Linked DNA regions of Homo sapiens: region 2 is linked to region 1. Evidence: promoter capture Hi-C in human tissues and cell types (Jung and others, 2019). All regions are on one chromosome and are shown on one strand. Each heading gives the region's core, a stretch centred on a gene start or on the middle of the fragment in contact. The rest is flanking DNA. Distances are from core to core; before and after follow the strand shown. Region 1 holds the start of SLC35F6 (solute carrier family 35 member F6). Region 2 overlaps HADHA (hydroxyacyl-CoA dehydrogenase trifunctional multienzyme complex subunit alpha).

The links. Contacts are between HindIII fragments. The study calls those that stand out against the background at their distance.
Region 2: a contact is called between a fragment that was not itself captured here and the fragment with the promoter of SLC35F6 in region 1, in 1 of the 25 tissues and cell types used here (mesenchymal stem cells).

The regions. Positions count from the first base shown.
Region 1 is chr2:26,761,122-26,766,961 of GRCh38, forward strand. It overlaps SLC35F6 (solute carrier family 35 member F6), which reads left to right and starts at 3,163. Exons shown (of 6, transcript NM_017877.4): 1 at 3,163-3,305. The coding sequence starts at 3,229. RefSeq lists an enhancer at 2,820-3,019 and a silencer at 3,030-3,339. The HindIII fragment of the contact is 8,469 bases long and covers 1-4,347 here.
Region 2 is chr2:26,232,617-26,238,456 of GRCh38, forward strand. HADHA (hydroxyacyl-CoA dehydrogenase trifunctional multienzyme complex subunit alpha) reads right to left here. Exons shown (of 20, transcript NM_000182.5): 4 at 4,239-4,372; 5 at 1,601-1,739. Among named protein-coding and RNA genes, the nearest start is that of HADHA, 9.1 kb to the right of the region's middle. The HindIII fragment of the contact is 5,257 bases long and covers 318-5,574 here.

The DNA.
Region 1 (5,840 bases), core at 1,913-4,412:
AAACGAGGCTGAGACCTACTGGGCTGCATTCCCAGGAGGTTAGGCATTCTAAGTCACAGGTCGAGATAGGAAGTGGGCACAAGGTACAGGTCACAAAGACCTTGCTGATAAAACAGGATGCAGTAAAGAAGCCGGCCAAAACCCACCAAAACCAAGATGGCGACAAAAGTGACCTCTGGTTTTTCTCACTGCTTGTTATACACTATTTATAATGCATTAGCATGCTAAAAGACACTCGCACCAGCGCGCGACAGTTTACAGATGCCATGGTAGCAACTGGAAGTTAACCTACATGGTCTAAAAAGGGGAGGAACACTTAGTTCTGGCAATTGCCCACCCCTTTCCCAGAAAACTCATGAATAATCCACCCCTTGTTTGGCATATAATCCAGAAATATCCATAAAAATAACCAATCAGCAGCCCTCGGGGCTGCTCTGCCAATGGAGTAGCCATTCTTTATCCTTTACTTTCTTAATAAACTTGTTTTCACTTTATGGATTCCCCGCAAGGTGCCAGGTCCAAGAACCCTCTCTTGAGGTCTGGATCAGAACCCCTTTCTGGTAACAAAAGGATCTTGTCGCTGGCGTGACAGGGCATGGGTGCAGACTAGAGCACTGGGAAAGGCATATTAGGAGCAGTTTTTTCTTTTCTTTTTCTTTCTTTTTTTTTTTTTTTTTGAGATGGAGTTTTCGCGCTTGTTGCCCAGGCTGGAGTGCAATGGCTCGATCTTGGCTCACTGCAACTTCCATCTCCCAGGTTCAAGCGATTCTCCTGCCTCAGCCTCCGGAGTAGCTGAGATTACAAGCATGCACCCCCACACCTGGCTAATTTTTTGTATTTTAGTAGAGATGGGGTTTCACCATGTTGGTCAGGCTGATCTTGAATTCCGACCTCAGGTGATCCACCTGCCTCAGCCTCCCAAAGTGCTGGGATTACAGGTGCGAGCCACCGCGCCTGGCCTTTTTTTTTTCTTTTTTTAAGACAGGGTGTCACTTTGCCACCCAGGCCGGAGTATAGTGGCATGATCTCAGTTCATTGCAACCTCCACCTCCAGGGACTCAAGCGATCCTCCTACTTAGCCTCCTGAGTAGCTGGGATTATGGGTACTTGTCATGACACTCAGCTAATTTTTGCATTTTTAGTAGAGACTGAGTTTTGCCATGTTGCCCAGGCTTGTCTGGAAATCCTGAGCTCAAGCAATCAGCCCGCTTCAGCCTCCCAAAGTGCTAGGATTATAGGTGTGAACCACCACACCCAGCCAAGAGTAGGATTTTAAACACCAGAACCCCTTGAGGACTAAGCTCTGATTTTTTTTACCTTGCCCAAATTCCTACCTAAGAGGTCTGGAGAGTCATGCCCTACAAACCATAAATTCTCATCAGATGGGTTTTATTTAACCCTATATATCATGACTTACTTTCCAATCTGACTCTGGCATAATATTATGTGACTAAGAAGAAAGTCAAAAGATTTTACCCCAAAACATTTTTCTTTGCCATATCTTGAAATGGCCCTGCAAATCTGTCTTTTGTGGGGGAAAATTTGCATCTGTAAAGAATCTCTATTACCGGCCGGGCGTGGCGGATCACGCCTGTAATCCCAGCACTTTGGGAGGCCGAGGCAGGTGGATCAGGAGTTCAAGACCAGCCTGGCCAACATGGTGAGACCCCCCCCATCTCTACTAGAAATACAAAATTTAGCCAGGCGTGGTGGCAGGCACCTGTAGTCCCAGCTACTTGGGAGGCTGAGGCAGAGAACTGATTGAATCCGGGAGGTGGAGGTTGCAGTGAGCCGAGATCGCACCACTGCACTCCAGCCTGGGCGACAGAGCAAGACTCCGTCTCAAAAAAAAACAAAAATCTCTATTAACATAGATAGATATTTTTCCCGTTTCCTGCCCCACCCTCTCCCCTCCTCCCGGCTTTGAGTTGTCCTACCTTTCTGGACCAAACCAATGTATTTCTTAAATGTATTTGATTGATGTCTCGTGTCTTTCTAAAATGCTGCGCCCCGACCACTTTGGGCACATGTTCTCAGGACCTCCTGAGGGCTGTGTCACGGGCCATGGTCACAAATATTTGGCTCAGAATAAATCCCTTCAAATATTTTAGAGTGTGACTCTTCGTCAACACCCTCTTCAAACAAACCTAGGGATGGTCTTTCTGCCTGGATGCCTCAGCTGCGACCAGAAAGTCCACAAAGGAGCAGTGAAGCAGGGCTTGGTGCAGAGGCCATGCGGAAGGCACGGATTTTTGGAGACTGGAGAACCCAAGCGCAAATCCCTACCCCACTGCTCACCAGCAGGTTCTTAAGCAAATCACTCTGCTTCGCTGAATTTACTGTCCTCAGCTATAAAATGGTGTCCTCGGCAACTGGAGCTAGATGCCTTCGCCACTTTGCTGAAAGATATGAACTGTGCCCAAGGTGGGCGGTATCAGATAGGAGCCCCGAAGTGGAAACGTCCAGCGTGGGAATCTCCTCTCTACAGGGTCCCCAAGGAACTCCCGGCAGGCCCACTTCAGGGCTCCTTTCTGACACCGCCCAGCTCAACCTCTCAAAACGATTCACAAAATGCTGTAATAGCCACGATGCACCCTCACTGCACTGTCCCATCCGCCCCTTTTACAAATAGGAAGACCCAAAGATAAAAATAAGAAACCAAGGCCAGGCGCGGTGGTTCACGCCTGTAATCCCAATACTTTGGGATGCGGAGGAGGGCGGATCACCTGAGGTCGGGAGTTCGAGACCAGCCTGGCCAACATGGTGAAGCCCTGTCTCTACTAAAAATACAAAAAATTAGCCGGGCGTGGTGAAGGGCGCCTGTAATCCGAGCTACTCGGGAGGCTGAAGCAGGAGAATCGCTTGAACCCAGGAGGCGGATATTGCAGTGAGCCGAGATCATGCCATTGCACTCCAGCCTGGGCGACAGAGTGAGACTCCTTCTCAAAAAAATAGAAAAAAGAAACCCAAAAAGGCGGGGGAGAGTGAGGAAGAAAAGAAAAAAAAAACTGGAAGGCCTGGGCCGTGATTTGCCAGGGCCACGGCGTGGCCACCAAAGCGCTCCAGGACGACTCGGCAGAGCGCGGGCACCGTGGCTCAGGCGCGCTCCCCGGGGGCGGGGCGAGCAGGAGGGGTCACGTGACGCCCGGCCCGGAAGCGCTCGCGCAGGAGACCCCGGGTGACGGGGCCCGGCGCCGCTAACTGGAGCGAACCCCAGCGTCCGCCGACATGGCCTGGACCAAGTACCAGCTGTTCCTGGCCGGGCTCATGCTTGTTACCGGCTCCATCAACACGCTCTCGGCAAAGTGAGTCTGGGCCCTGCCGGGCGTGCGGGCCCTGGCGACCCCGGCGCTCGTTCTACGCCTTCCCCCTTCTTGGCCCTGCCCTCCTGGCTTCCCCTGCTTTCCCACTTGCTCCGGTCAGTTCGCGCGCGTTATGACCACCCAAGGGATGCGAGGCCCGGGGAAATGCGGAGCGGGGCTGCGCCCCGGACGGGGGGATCCGAGCCCCGGCTTTGATTTGCTGTACAGCCTCCGCTCCTGTTTCCACGTCTTTTAACAGGAGGGTTGGCCGATTCCTTTCCACGGCCCTTCCAGTGCTGGCGTCCAAGCCTGAGCACCTCCCTCCACGAGCTGGGAGAGACCCCTGGACTTGTGCACATGAGCCGCAGTAGTGGCTGTGCAGGCCGAGTGACCCAGTGAGCGTGGAGGCCTCAAGCGGCAGACAGGGAGGTGCCCCACGGCCCCTCAAGGATGAGGGGTTAGAGCTGTGCTTTGAAGCTTAGGTGGGATTTCGGAATGTGTCTGAGACTGTAAGTCAAGGAAAGTCTACGGAAAGGCCAGATCAAAGTCGATTGTAACCAGCATCAAATGCCCAGGTTAGATTTTCTCTCATAATCAGAAAAGTGCTTTTGAGCTGGGGAATGACATGTTGAAAGTGATATGATTGACTCAATGACATGAGGAGTGGTTTGGTGCAGGAAAAACCACTCCAAGGCTGCTGCATAGCAGATGAGGGGAACTAGGAGGTGGCAGTGAGAAGAGAAAGGAAGGGACAACTGGTGGCAGAGACCAGGTGTGAATGGCCACAGGCCTGACCCACATGAGCAAGAAACAAGGATCACTCCAGGGTTTCTGCCTGGGAGAAGAAAAGTGCCATTAACTCAGACAGAGAGGGCAAGTGGCCAGTTCAGCTCTGATGTATGGGGGTGAGAGGGGGGACAGTTCCCAGGAGGTTAGGGACTAAGGACCCAGGCAGTCATGAGACTGAGGGACAGGGCCTAGCCTCCCCTCTGTTGTGGGCAGGATGGCATTTCTTTGTCTCTCTCTGTCTCCATCTCAGGGCAGGGCCTTCCTGCCCCTCCTTTTCTTGTTGCCCAGGCTGGAGTGCAATGGCACGATCCCATGTATAAGGTACCTACGGTGTGTAAGGGAAGGGGACAGAAGTGACCAAGAGGCGATCTCTGCCTTTGAGATGCTTGGAATCTGAGGTGGAGGAGACAGACGTGTACGCACACGACAGTCACAGTGTTCTCCCTTCCCCAAACGGTGGGCACAGTCAGTGGAGTCCTGGGTGGGCCCCACCTGTTCCTCTGGTTCACCTCTGGCCAACTGTGCCTTGTGGAGAACTACTAGCTTCCCAGGCCCTGCATCCTCCTGAGGATCACTCCTCATGCTGAATCCTTAGCTGTTCAGAGGCCCCAGCCTGAGGGCTCCCATCTCAGGATCTGAACACAGCAAAGCAAGTCTTCTGTTCTGTCATGCCAGCCAGGGCCTCTGTCAAGTGCTTAGAGAGCGGTTGTAAGTCCACCAGGGCTGCTGCCCACAAGGAGAATCCAGATTGCCAGTTACTGCTGGGGTAAACTGTGCTGATTCACCTCCTTCCTTAGAAAACTCCAAACCAGTCAGGTAGGAAGCTTAGAGATCCTCAATCCCAGAAGGCGTCGCCTTTAAAGGCTGCCTGAGAGTCAGGAAAGAGGCTCCCAGGTGACAGACCCAACTTTTGGTCCTGTCCCCTGCCTGACAGCTGGTGTGGGGCCTCTCAGGATCCTCCCACCCCAAGATGGGCCCCCAAATTGGACCCTAAACAGTGTTCTAAGGTCAAACCACAAGAAGGGATACTCTTAGGGAGAAAGAACATGTGGGAGCAGCTGCATGCACCCCGATGTGAAGTATGGATTTGAAATCACATTTCTGGCCCGGCGCGGTGGCTTACGCCTGTCATCCCAGCACTTTGGGAGGCAGAAGCGGCTGGATCACTTGAGGTCAGGAGTTTGAAACCAGCCTGACCAATATGGTGAAACTGCATCTCTACTAAAAATACAAAAATTAGCTGGGCGTGGTAGTGCGCACCTGTAGTCCCAGCTACTTGGGAGGCTGAGACAGGAGAATTGCTTGAACCCGGGAGGCGGAGGTTGCAATGAGCCAAGATTGCACCACTGCCCTCCAACCTGGGTGACAGAGTGAGACTCGGTCTCAAAAAAAAAAATAAAAGGAAATCACATTTTTGACCCACGATTTCCAGCAGGCACAGACAGACAAGCATGTGCTGACAACTAGCAGAAGCATCTCATGCACAAAGAGCACCTCGCATGCCCCAGGCCCTGCTCTGCCCTTTCATGTGTGAACTCAGGGAATTCTCATAACCACCCTATCAGGCAAAGACAGGGGCTGATATTCCTGTATAAGGAAACTGAGGTAGGAAATGATTAAATTCCTTGCCCAAGTTCAACTTAGCTACTAAGTGGCAGAGTTTATAGTTGAGCCAGCATGGTCTGGCTCTAGCATCCATGCTCTTAACCACCACTGGAGGGTGTGGCTGGGGACTTCTCCAGTCATTTT
Region 2 (5,840 bases), core at 1,696-4,195, 530 kb before region 1:
TCCTAGTTGGCTTTGCTTTTGCCTTTGCTCACACCATACCATATGCGGAATTGTTTTTCCCTCCATATTCTGGTTAATCAAATTCTGCTTATAGTTTAGGACCAGGCACAGGTTTTCTTAATTAATATAGTCATGTGTCACATAATGAGGGGGATATGTTCTGAGAAATGTACCATTAGGAAATTTTGTTGTTGTGTGAACATCGCAGAGTGTACTTACACAAACCCAGATGGCAGAGCCTGCTACACATCTAGGCTATATGGGATAGCCTATTGCTCCTAGTCCAGCAGTCCCCAACCTTTTTGACGCCAGGGACAGGTTTTGTGAAAGGCAATTTTTCCAAGAACTGGGGGTGGGGTGGGAGGGAGTGGTTTCAGGATGAAACTGTTCCACTTCAAATCATCAGGCAATAGAGGCCAATGGAGTGCGCAACCTGGATCCCTCTCATGTGCAGTTCACAACAGGGTTCCAGCTCTTATGAGAATCTAATGCCACTGTTGATATGACAGGAGGCGGAACTCAGGTGGTAATGTTCACTCGCCCACTGCTCACCTCCTGCTGTGGGGCCCAGTTCCTAACAGGCTATGGCCTGGGAACTGGGGACCCCTGTCCTAAGGGGCTACAAACCTGGACTGCATGTGACTATTGAATACTGTAGGCAACTGTGGCACAGTGATAAGCATTTCTGTATCTAAACACAGAAAAGGTATAGAAAAATGTAGTGTTACAGTCTTATAGAACCACTGCTGTATGTGCAATTGGTCATTGAAACGTTATGTGGTAAATGACTGCATATGTGAAAGTGTCTGGCACAGAGTTCAGCATGTGAAAAGTGCTCAATGAATGTTTCCTTTTCCCCTTCTTTTCTTTCCTACATGTTCGGGTCTAGTAAGCATCTCTTCTCTCAAATCTTCTATTATTTACCGTCTTTACTACTGACAAAGCACTTATATTATGCTTTATGTGTCTCAACCAGACTTAAGTAGCTTAAGAGCCTAGATCACACTTCTGAATCTTTGCCCTGCAAACTTGAACAAGATTTTTACAGCTGAAAAGGACATTAGAGATGCAGTTCAAATGAAAACATCACACCTTCATTTACTTGCTTTGTGCCACTTGCTCTGTGTCATGTGGATTAAGGATTAACACCTATCCAGAAGTTTGATAACTAAAAACAAAGCTATTTAGGCACAGTGGCTCACACCTGTAATCCCAGCACTTTGGGAGGCCGAGGCGGGAGGATCACCTGAGGTCAGGAGTTTGAGACCAGCCTGGCCAACATGGTGAAACCCCATCTCTACTAAAAATACAAAAATTAGCTGGGCATGGTGATGCACACCTGTAATCCCAGCTACTGGGGAGGCTGAAGCAGGAGAATTGTTTGAAGCCAGGAGGCAGAGGTTGCAGTGAGCCAAGATCGTGCCATTGCTCTCCAGCCTGGGAGACAAGAGCAAAATTCCGTCTCAAAGCAAAAAACAAAAAACAAAGCGGATTCTCCTCCAGAAACTTTTTCCAGGCAAAGCAGTAGCCTAAGGGTTTACAGCTGATGAATGCCACCAATGAGTTGGACAGTGTCTCAATAACTTTAGAATATCTATACCTCAAGTCCTCCTCCCAGGCAGGATCCATTGATGGCAGCCACAATAGGCTTTGTGGACTTTTCAAGTTTCTCAACTATTCTCTGTGCTTCTTGTGATAGCTGTGTTACTTCTTGAAGGGTCTTGCAAGCGGCTAACATGCTGCATTATCCATAAAAGTAGAGAACAGAGAAAAAGATAAAACTATAATTTATTTGGTTCAATACTTATTCACTATACACTTATCCTATCATGCATCAATATTTGATGACAAATCTTCAAATAGAAGGTTAAGAATGATTTTGCTTCAAATAGCACAATAGCAGCAACATCATTTCTCCATAAAGAGTGTTAAACTTCTGGATCCATGAGACCATCCCGGCTAACACGGTGAAACCCCGTCTCTACTAAAAATACAAAAAATTAGCTGGGCATAGTGGCGGGCGCCTGTAGTCCCAGCTACTTGGGAGGCTGAGGCAGGAGAACAGTGTGAAACCGGGAGGTGGAGCTTGCAGTGAGCCGAGATCGCGCCACTGCACTCCAGCCTGGGCGACAGAGTGAGACTCTGTCTCAAAAAAAAAAAAAAAAATTCTGGATCCAGAAAACATAAATGTGTTGCATAATTTATTTTTACTTCTGTAATAAATCATTAAATTACAAAGCTTGGTACAAGGGAAAATCATCTTTGGTAAATTACTTCACTATCAGATTAAACATTTCACTATCAGGTAGTTAACAGCAATAAAAATGACGCAAAAGAAAAGCTTCCAGGTTGTTTAGAGAAATCTAAAACATTTTAACAGATCCCACTAATGAATAAAAATGACCAGGTAGGCCAGGCATGGTGGCTCATGCCTGTAATCCCAGCACTTTGAGAGGCCAAGGCAGGTGGATCACCTGAGGTCAGGAGTTCGAGACCAGGCTGGTCAACATGGTGAAACCGCGTCTCTACTAAAAATACAAAAATTAGCTGGGCGTGGTGCTGCATTCCTGTAGTCCTGGCTACTCGGGAGGCTGAGGCGAGAGAATCACTGGAACCTGGGAGGTGGAGGTTGCAGTGGGCCGAGATCGCACCACTGTACTCCAGCCTGGACAGCAGAGGGAGACTCCGTCTCAAAAATAAATAAGTAAATAAAAATGATCAGGTGCAATGATGTTCCACTCAATGTCCTTTAATTTCAGTTTGTTTCATTTGCTATTTTGTGAACACACTTAGGATATGGATTTTGTACTTTTGACCAAGGATAACTAGTATATTCTGTAATTTTATACACTGAGAGTTGCTCAGCTGGCCTCATAGAAGCTACATGTATTTTCCTCTGGATATAGGTAGCTACTGCCAGGTACATCAGTGTCTTGTTAGACTTTATAAATGTTCTGTTTAATGTTAATTTTTTAGAAGACCCAAAATTATCTTATCAAGTGGTTTTTCTTCTAGCTGAATTATTTGTGCCTAACAAGAGACTGATTACTACACATAAATAATTACACTTTCAGTACAAATTACTAAACCTACAATGCTGGCTATCATTGTCTAAAATACAAAGAACATAACAAATACCCATATTTTAATGGAATTGACAACTTAACATTTTAACCTATTAAACTGACACTAAAATATCATTTCCCCTCCTTATGTATGTGTAAACAATTGTAAATAAGTTAATGTAGGCATGCATTCCACCATTTAGCAGAGGAAAAGAAAATACTAGCTGCATCTGTAAAGCTGCCTTTAACAATCAAGTCCTACCACCCACTTCATTTCCCCAAAGCAGCCATCTTCATGTTTGTAGTGTCTCCTTCCAGACCAACTACGATTGTGTCCATAAATAGTATCAAGAATTATTCCATGTTTGGTTTTAAAACATTTATAGAAACTATATACTGTATGAAACATTCTGCAATTTGCTTTTCTTTTAACTTAACCTTATGTTTTTGAGTTCTAACATCATATTGTGGATCTAGTTAATTCCTTTTACCTGTTTTGTAGTATTCTATTGTGTGAATAGTCCACATTTTACTTACCCATTTTCCTACTGACTGACATTTGGTTTTAAATTCTTCATTATTTCACACTACACAGGACCAAACATCCTTGTACACTGGTTCTTATAAACAAGGGGTGAGATTTCTCTAGATCACATGATGTGTGTGTGTGTGTGTGTGTATATATATATATATATACTCTGTGTGTGTGTGTGTGTGTGTGTGTGTGTGTGTGTGTGTGTATATACTTTTTTTTTTTAAGACAGTCTCACTCTGTCACCCAGGCTGGAGTGCAGTGGTGTGATCTCGGCTCACTGCAACCTCTGCCTCCCAGGTTCAAGGGATTTTCGTGCCACAGCCTCCTGAGTAGCTGAGATTACAAGCGTGTGCCACCATGCCTAATTTTTGTATTTTTAGTGGAGACAGGGTTTCACCATGTTGGCCAGGCTGGTCTTGAGCTCTTGGCCTCATGTGATCCACCTGCCTCGGCCTCCCAAAGTGCTGGGATTACAGGCAAGAACCACCACACCCAGCCTGATACGTACATTTTCAATTTTACAGGCCTGTGTCACTGTGCCCAGCACTTCTACTTTCTTTTAAAAGGAGAAATTATTAGGCCTAAGAAACACACTATTAACCAAGATAAAAGGTGACTTCAAGTTTCCTAAAACTTACTTGATATCAGCACCTGCAATAAAGCAGCCTGGCTTTGATGAGATAAGGACGGCACTTCTGATTTGATCACTAGCCCAGATTTCATTCATAACTTCTGAGAACTCTGAATGTAGCTCTTTACTCAGTGTATTTACCTGCCAAAGGGAAATATATACAGGTAAGGGTTTAAATTTGAAGCACTGGATGTACGTACCACCATCAAATGCTATTTTGATTATAAGAAATATACTTATCCGGCAGAAATATACTGTTAGAAGAGAGTAAGAAATATCATTCTCCCAGCAAGTCAGTAGCTTTCTATTCAGGCAGCTTTGGCCCACTACAAGCACCCCTTCCTTTAAAAATAGGTCTTCTCAAAGGAGAAACTCAGGGTCATCCTCAGAGTTTGAATCATATGTAGGCTATAAACAAATAGGTCTACAAACATTTATTGGCATGGAAAAAATCTGCATAATGTTAAGAAAAAAATGAAATACAAATAAGACATATAGGCCAGGCATGGTGGCTCATCCCTGTAATCCCTGCACTTTGGGAGGCCAAGGTGGGCGGATCACTTGAGTTCAGGAGTTCGAGACCAGCCTGGGCAACATAATGGAACCTTGCCTCTACAGAAAATACAAAAATTAGCCGGGCCTGACAGCACACGCCTATAGTCCCAGCTACTCAGGAGGCTTAGGTGGGAGGATCACCTGAGCCTGGGGAGGCTGAAGCTGCACTAACCTGTGACTGTGCCACTGCACTCCAGCCTAGGCAACAGAATGAGACCCTATCTTCAAAAAAAACCATATAGTATGATCTTAGTTTTGTAAATATTATTCATTGAAACTGAATTAAATGTGATTATCCCATGGAAGATACCAAGAAAAAGATGTGGTTATCTTTAGGTTTGAATTATGAATGTTTATTATTTTCTTCTTTATAATTTTTTATAGTTGAAAAATTTTCTACCATTGACATATATTACTTTTGTGTTCAGGAAAAATGTCCAACCTAAGAAAATTCTGAAAAAATATCTTAAGCTTGAATCATTGGTTAGTGAGTGCTAAAATTTACTCTAGTAAAGGGGAATGGCTCTTATTTACCTTAATTTGTGATAGTTGTCAACTGCTTCCATCTAGGTCTTATTACATCTAAGCCTCTGGCTATAAGTTTGTTGTTGTTGTTTTTTAGAGAGACAAGGTCTTGCTCTGTGGCCCAGGCTGGAGTGCAGTGGTGCAATCATAGCTCACTGTAACCTTGAATTCCTAGGCTTAAGTGATCTTTCCACCTCAGCCTTCAGAGTAGCTAGCACTACAGGTGAACATCACCATACCCAACTATTTTTTATTTTTTATAGAGACAAGGTCTTGCTATGTTGCCCAGGGTGGTCTCAAACTCCTGGGCTGAAGTGATCCTCCTGCCTCGGCCATCCAGTGTTGGGATTATAGGTGTGAGCCACAGTGCCCAGCCTGGCTACAAGATTTTTAAAGTAAGAATACACCAAATTTAGATGGGGGAAAAGCATGGACTCTCACAATAAAGCTCTTCTTGGCAAAAGAATGGATTACTGTTACACACTTTATTGAAGCTGCCAAAAACAAAAGAAGTTTCAATTCGAACAGA